Regions from separate parts of the Homo sapiens genome. Here region 2 is linked to region 1. The links are contacts of gene promoters, found by promoter capture Hi-C in blood cells and fetal thymus (Javierre and others, 2016). All regions are on one chromosome and are shown on one strand. The core of a region is centred on a gene start or on the middle of the fragment in contact, and the rest is flanking DNA. Distances in the headings are between cores, read along the strand shown.

What was found. The method cuts DNA at HindIII sites, captures the fragments that hold promoters and counts their contacts. A CHiCAGO score of 5 or more calls a contact.
Region 2: a fragment that was not itself captured here is called in contact with the fragment with the promoter of FBXO33 in region 1 in 7 of 17 cell types (total B cells, non-activated CD4 T cells, total CD4 T cells and 4 more); the score reaches 14.4 in total B cells.

The regions. Positions count from the first base shown.
Region 1 is chr14:39,431,033-39,433,732 of GRCh38, forward strand. It overlaps FBXO33 (F-box protein 33), which reads right to left and starts at 1,401. Exons shown (of 4, transcript NM_203301.4): 1 at 532-1,401. The coding sequence starts at 1,130. It overlaps LOC105370461 (a long non-coding RNA gene), which reads left to right and starts at 1,407. Exons shown (of 8, transcript XR_007064121.1): 1 at 1,407-1,487. RefSeq lists silencers at 390-519, 960-1,089, 1,830-1,999 and an enhancer at 1,190-1,439. The HindIII fragment of the contact is 7,836 bases long and covers 1-2,700 here.
Region 2 is chr14:44,882,084-44,884,783 of GRCh38, forward strand. No RefSeq gene overlaps it. Among named protein-coding and RNA genes, the nearest start is that of DORIP1, 14 kb to the right of the region's middle. The HindIII fragment of the contact is 724 bases long and covers 1,051-1,774 here.

The sequences.
Region 1 (2,700 bases), core at 151-2,650:
CTCCTCCTCTTCGGGCCTTGTTCAGTTAGCCGAAACTATTTCTGGTAAGAAAATGGCTGTTACAAAATTTCTTTTAGGCAGCGTCCTATGAGTACCTACTCCTTCCCTCACCATGAACTATTTCTAACAGATTCAGAGTCAGAAAATCGTGTTATGTGTATGTTTTGTTTCTTCCAAGGCTCACCCACAGGCCTCACCCTCCCAGTCTTAACGCTCCCATATATAAAATGAAAAGTGACAGCGCCTGTCAGCTCCATCCCACGGCCACCAAGAGGATGAATGAGTGCCTGGAAGGCGCCAGAAGTGGTGTCTGTTAAACACCCCGTCCACCACTGTTTATAAAGTATCGTGATGAGTCCCGTTATGCCTTTCCGCTCAAGGAAACCGCCTAGTTAGAACCAACACTCTCCGTCACTGAGGAAGGCAACACTGAAGTTGGCCGGGCACGTATTATGCACAGAATCTGTGTCGGGGTGCGGGGACGGAGCGACCCCCCGTTACCGGGCGGGGCGGGGCTCAGGGCAAGCCTACCTGTTGTTCCGGATGCTGACCAGCACGCAAAGCACCAGCTCCAAGTAGGTGCGCAGCACTTCCAGCCAACGAGCTGAGAGCTGCAGGGCCTCGACTTCCTCCCCTCCAGTCCCGGTGTCCGCGCCACCTCCGTCCCCTGGGCCACCGCCGCTCAGATAGTTCTCGGCGGCGAATTCAACACGCAGCTCTCGCACGAACCAGCCGCACTTGCGCATGAGGAATTCCAGCCGAGGCTGCTCCGCGGGCGAGACGCGGAGGCAGATGCGGAGCTGGGGCCACAGGGCCGGATAGAAGAGGCACTCACGCCAGTGCGAGCAGGAGGCCGAGGCCCGCAGCCGGTCGGGCGCCGGCAGAAAAGAGAAGATGTGCACGATCAGCTCGCTGGGCAGCGACGCAGCGCCCGCCGCCTGCCCGCACAGAGCCATCCGGCCCCGCCGCCGGCTGCCGGCTCCCGGCCGCCCCCGCAGTACCCGGAGCAGCCCCCGCAGCCGTCGCAGCTGCTGCAGCCGCAGCCGCCGCCACCGCGCCACCCGGGCGGCCCCGGCTCGGGTTCGAGCTCCCGGCGGTCGGGGCTGCGGCACTGACAAGAACAACAACATCAATGACTAGGAAGAAGGGGGCGGAACCGTCGTGGGTCTCGGCGGAACCAAGTAGAACACAAGTTGTGGAGAGGGGGAAAGGCCTCTGCGGGCGTGGCCTGCCGGGAGCCAGCCTCTGTCTTCTCAAACTCTACTCACGTGCGTCCGAGGCCGGCACACTGAGTAACTGCACTGCCCTCGCTCGTAAACTTCAGCGGCCCGGAAGCCTCAAGGCGTACTGTAAGGAAAAGGCAGCCCTCCCTGCGCCGGTCGGCAGAGACAGAGAAGTGGTAGGAGCTGAGTTTGACGTCGCCGCTGGTGGGAGGAGTCCGGCGCGCACCGGCGCGACTTCCGGAAGAGGGGAGCGCCCGATTGCCTGTAGGGACGGGAGGCGCGGCACGTGATCTCTGACGCACGCAGGCCGCGGGGCGGGGCGGGGCTGGGCGGGGCGGGGCGGGGCGGGGCTGGGCGGGACTGGAACCGGCACTTGGCACCCCTTACGCCTTACGGTGGCCGCTGCGCCCAGTCACATCTGTAAGTCGGTTAATTTTGGCGCTCGGTCGATGGAGGTGGCGGTACTCTGGTTTAGTGCGAAAGGTCGTCACGCTTCTTTGTAAAACGTTTCTCAGTTTGGGCTGAGGACCCTGAGCCAAAGTGGCGGCATGCAGGGTCTTTCTCAGCCATCCCACCTGCCCAGAGTAGGGTTAAGAATTCCTGAGATTGCGCCGCTGAGAGGGAGCTGGCGGACGGGCGGGCTAACCCCGGCGGGCTGTGCCGGGAGGGGCGGTGTGGGGCGTGGCGGAGGCCGCGAATGGACCTGCCCCCTCGGTCCAACCACGCAGGTGGACTTCCGCGCACTCGCTGGTGTGTGGGGAAGCAGTGAGGACAGCGTCACCCTTTGGATTCAGAGGGAGAGAAAAAAATTGGCAAAGGGATCTGAGATCCGCAGGTTGTGACCAGCCTCTTCTCCAGGGCTTGAGGAAGGGTCTCTTTTCCCTGTGCTGAGATTTAAGGCTCTCGTTGAAAAGTTCACAGTAATGACAGAGCTTTGATTTTTTTTCTTTCTTCTTCTTCTTTTTTTGCCTGGTATCCCTAACTTAGATTTTCCAAACCATGTCCCTAACTTCACCACAGCCTACTGCAAAGTAAACTCTGGTTGCAAAGAGTGGTGAAGTCAGAAAAGATTAAGTGACTTTATGTAATAATCGAGGGTTGCTTTAGGGAGGCTGCCTCTTTATGTAATAATTGAGAGTTGCTTTAGGGAGGCTGTGATGTTGGAATAGCATCGTTCTTTTGTGGTAAACACCAAGACTTTTTGGACTTTTTTTTTTTTTTTTGGTTTTAAGGAGCGGAGAATTTAATAGGCAAGAAAGAAGGAAGAAGGCTGAAGGAAGAAGCTCCCCACTACAGAGACAGACGGAGGGGGCTCCCAAGACGAAAGAGGAGACCCCCATTCTAGATGTTCTTAACCCTTTGAGGGCAAAGCTCTCCGTTTAATGCCTTGCACATATCAGGTTGCCAACAACATGGTGTGGTTTATCAATTGTGATAGGTTACTTATTCGAGCCCCTGTTTACAAGAGTTTTAGGTA
Region 2 (2,700 bases), core at 163-2,662, 5.5 Mb after region 1:
AGCTAGAAGAAATGGATAAATTCCTGGACACATACAACCTACAAAGACTTAACTATGAAGAAATCTAAAACCTGAACAGACCATTAACAAGTAATGAGATCAAAGCCATAATAAAAAGACTCCCAGTGAATAAAAGCCCTGGATTTTATAGTTTCACTGCTAAATTCTACCTAACATTTAAAGAACTAATATTAATCGTACTCAAACTATTCTGAAAAATAGAAGAGGAAAGACTACTTCCAAACTCATTCTATGAGGCCAGTATTACCCCGTTACCAAAACCAGACAACACCACATCAAAAAAAAGAAAACTATATGCCAATATCACTGATAAATATTGATGCAAAAATCCTCAACAAAATACTAGGAAAGCAAAATTGACAAAACATTAAAAAGGTCATTCATTACAGCCAAGTAGAGTTTGCCAAGGAATGCAAGGATAGTTCAACATATGTAGATCAATTAATGTGATACATTATATCAACACAATGAAGGACAAAAACCATATGATCATTTCAACTGATGCTGAAAAAGCATTTGATAAAATTCAACATCCCTTCAAGATTAAAAAAAAACCCTCAAAAAAATTGGAAATAGAAGGAACATACCTCAACAAAATAAAAGCCATATGTAACAAACCCATAGCTAGAATCATACTCAATGGGGAAAAACTGAAAGCCTTTCCTCTAAGATCAAGAACATGACAAGGATGCCCACTTTCACAACTTTTTTTCAACGTAGTACTGGAAGTCCTACCTAGAGCAATCAGAAAAGAAAGAAATGAAGGGGATCCAAATTGCAAATCAAGAGTTCAAATGATCCTTGCGTGCAGATGCTATGATCTTATATTTAGAAAAACCAAAGACTTTACAAAAAAATTATTAAAACTGATAAACAAATTCAGTAGTTGGAGGTTATAAAATCAACATACAAAATCAGCAGAAGCATTTCTATATGCCAACATTGAACAATCTGAAAAAGAAATCAAGAAAGCTGTCCCATTTACAATAGCTACAAATAAATACCCAGGAATTAAACAAAAAAGTGAAAAGCTTATACAATGAAAACTATTAAGACATTAATGCAAGAAATTGAAGAATAAACCAAAAAAATGGAAAGATATTTCATGTTCATGTATTGGAAGAATCAAAATCGTTAAAATGTCCATATTACTCGAAGCAATCTACAGATTCAGTGTAATCTCTATCAAAATACCAATGACCTTCCTTACAGAAATAGAATAAACAATCCTAAAATTTACATGGAACCACAAAAGACTCAGAATAGACAAACCTATTGTAAGCAAAAAAAAAAAAAAAAAAAAAAAAGTGGAGGAATCACATCACCTGCCTTTAAATAATCCTACAGAGCTATAGTAACCAAAACAACACGGTACTGTCATAAAAATACACACATAGATCAGTGGAACAGAATAAAGATCCCAGAGATAAATCCATACAGCTACAATAAACTCTTTTTTGACAAAACTGCCAAGAATGTACACTGGAGAAAGTACAATCTCTTTAATAAATGGTGCTGGGAGAACTTGATATCCACATGCAAAAGAATAAAACTAGATCCCTATCTCTCACCATCTACAAAAATCAAATCGAAATGGACTGAAGACTTAAATCTGAGACCTCAAACTATGAAATTACTACCAGAAAACACTAGGGAAACTCTCCAGGACATCAGACTGGGCATATTTGTTGAGTAAGCACAAGCACAGGCAACCAAACCAAACATGGACAAATGGGATCACATCAAGTTTAAAAGCTTCTGCACAGCAAAAGAAACAATCAAAAAAGTGAAGAGACAACCTACAGAGTGTGAGAAAATATATGCAAACTACTCATCTAACAATGGATTAATAACCAGTATATGGAACTCAAACAACTCTATAGGAAAAAAATCTAATAATCGGATTTAAAACTGGGCAAAAGACCTGACTAGATATTTCTCAAAAAATACTTACAAATGGCAATCAAGTATATAAAAAGGTGCTCTACATCTTTGATCATTAGAGAAATGCAAATCAAAACTACAGTAAGATGTCATCTCACCCCAGTTAAAAAGGCTTTTATGCAAAGTCAGGCAATAACAAATGCTGGTAAGAATGTGAAGAAAAGGGAACCCTCTTACATTGTTGGTGAGAATGTAAATTAGTACAACCACTATGGAGAACAGTTTGGAGGATCATTACAAAACTAAAAATAGGCCAGGCATGGGGAGAAGGGAGGCCGAGGCAGGTGTATCACTTGAGTCCAGGAGTCTGAGATGAGTCTGGTAAACATGGCGAAACCCATCTTTACAAAAAAAATACAAAAATTAGTTGAACATAGTGGTGCACAGCTGTAGTCCCAGTTACTAGGGAAGGTGCAGCAGGAGGATCGCTAGACCTCAGGGGGTGGAGGTTGCAGTAAGCCGAAATGGTACCACTGCACTCCAGCCTGAATGACAGGGTGGGACCCTGTCTCAAAAAAAAACAAAAGAAAGAAAGAAAAGAAACACTAAAAATAGAGCTACCATATGATCCAGCAATCCCACAGCTAGGTATATACCCCAAAGAAAGGAAATCAGTATACTGAAGAGATATCTGCACTCCCATGTTTGTTGCAGTACTATTCACAACACATCTTTTGCAAGATTCAGAAGCAACCTAAGTGTCCATCCATAGATGACTAGATAAAGAAAATGTGG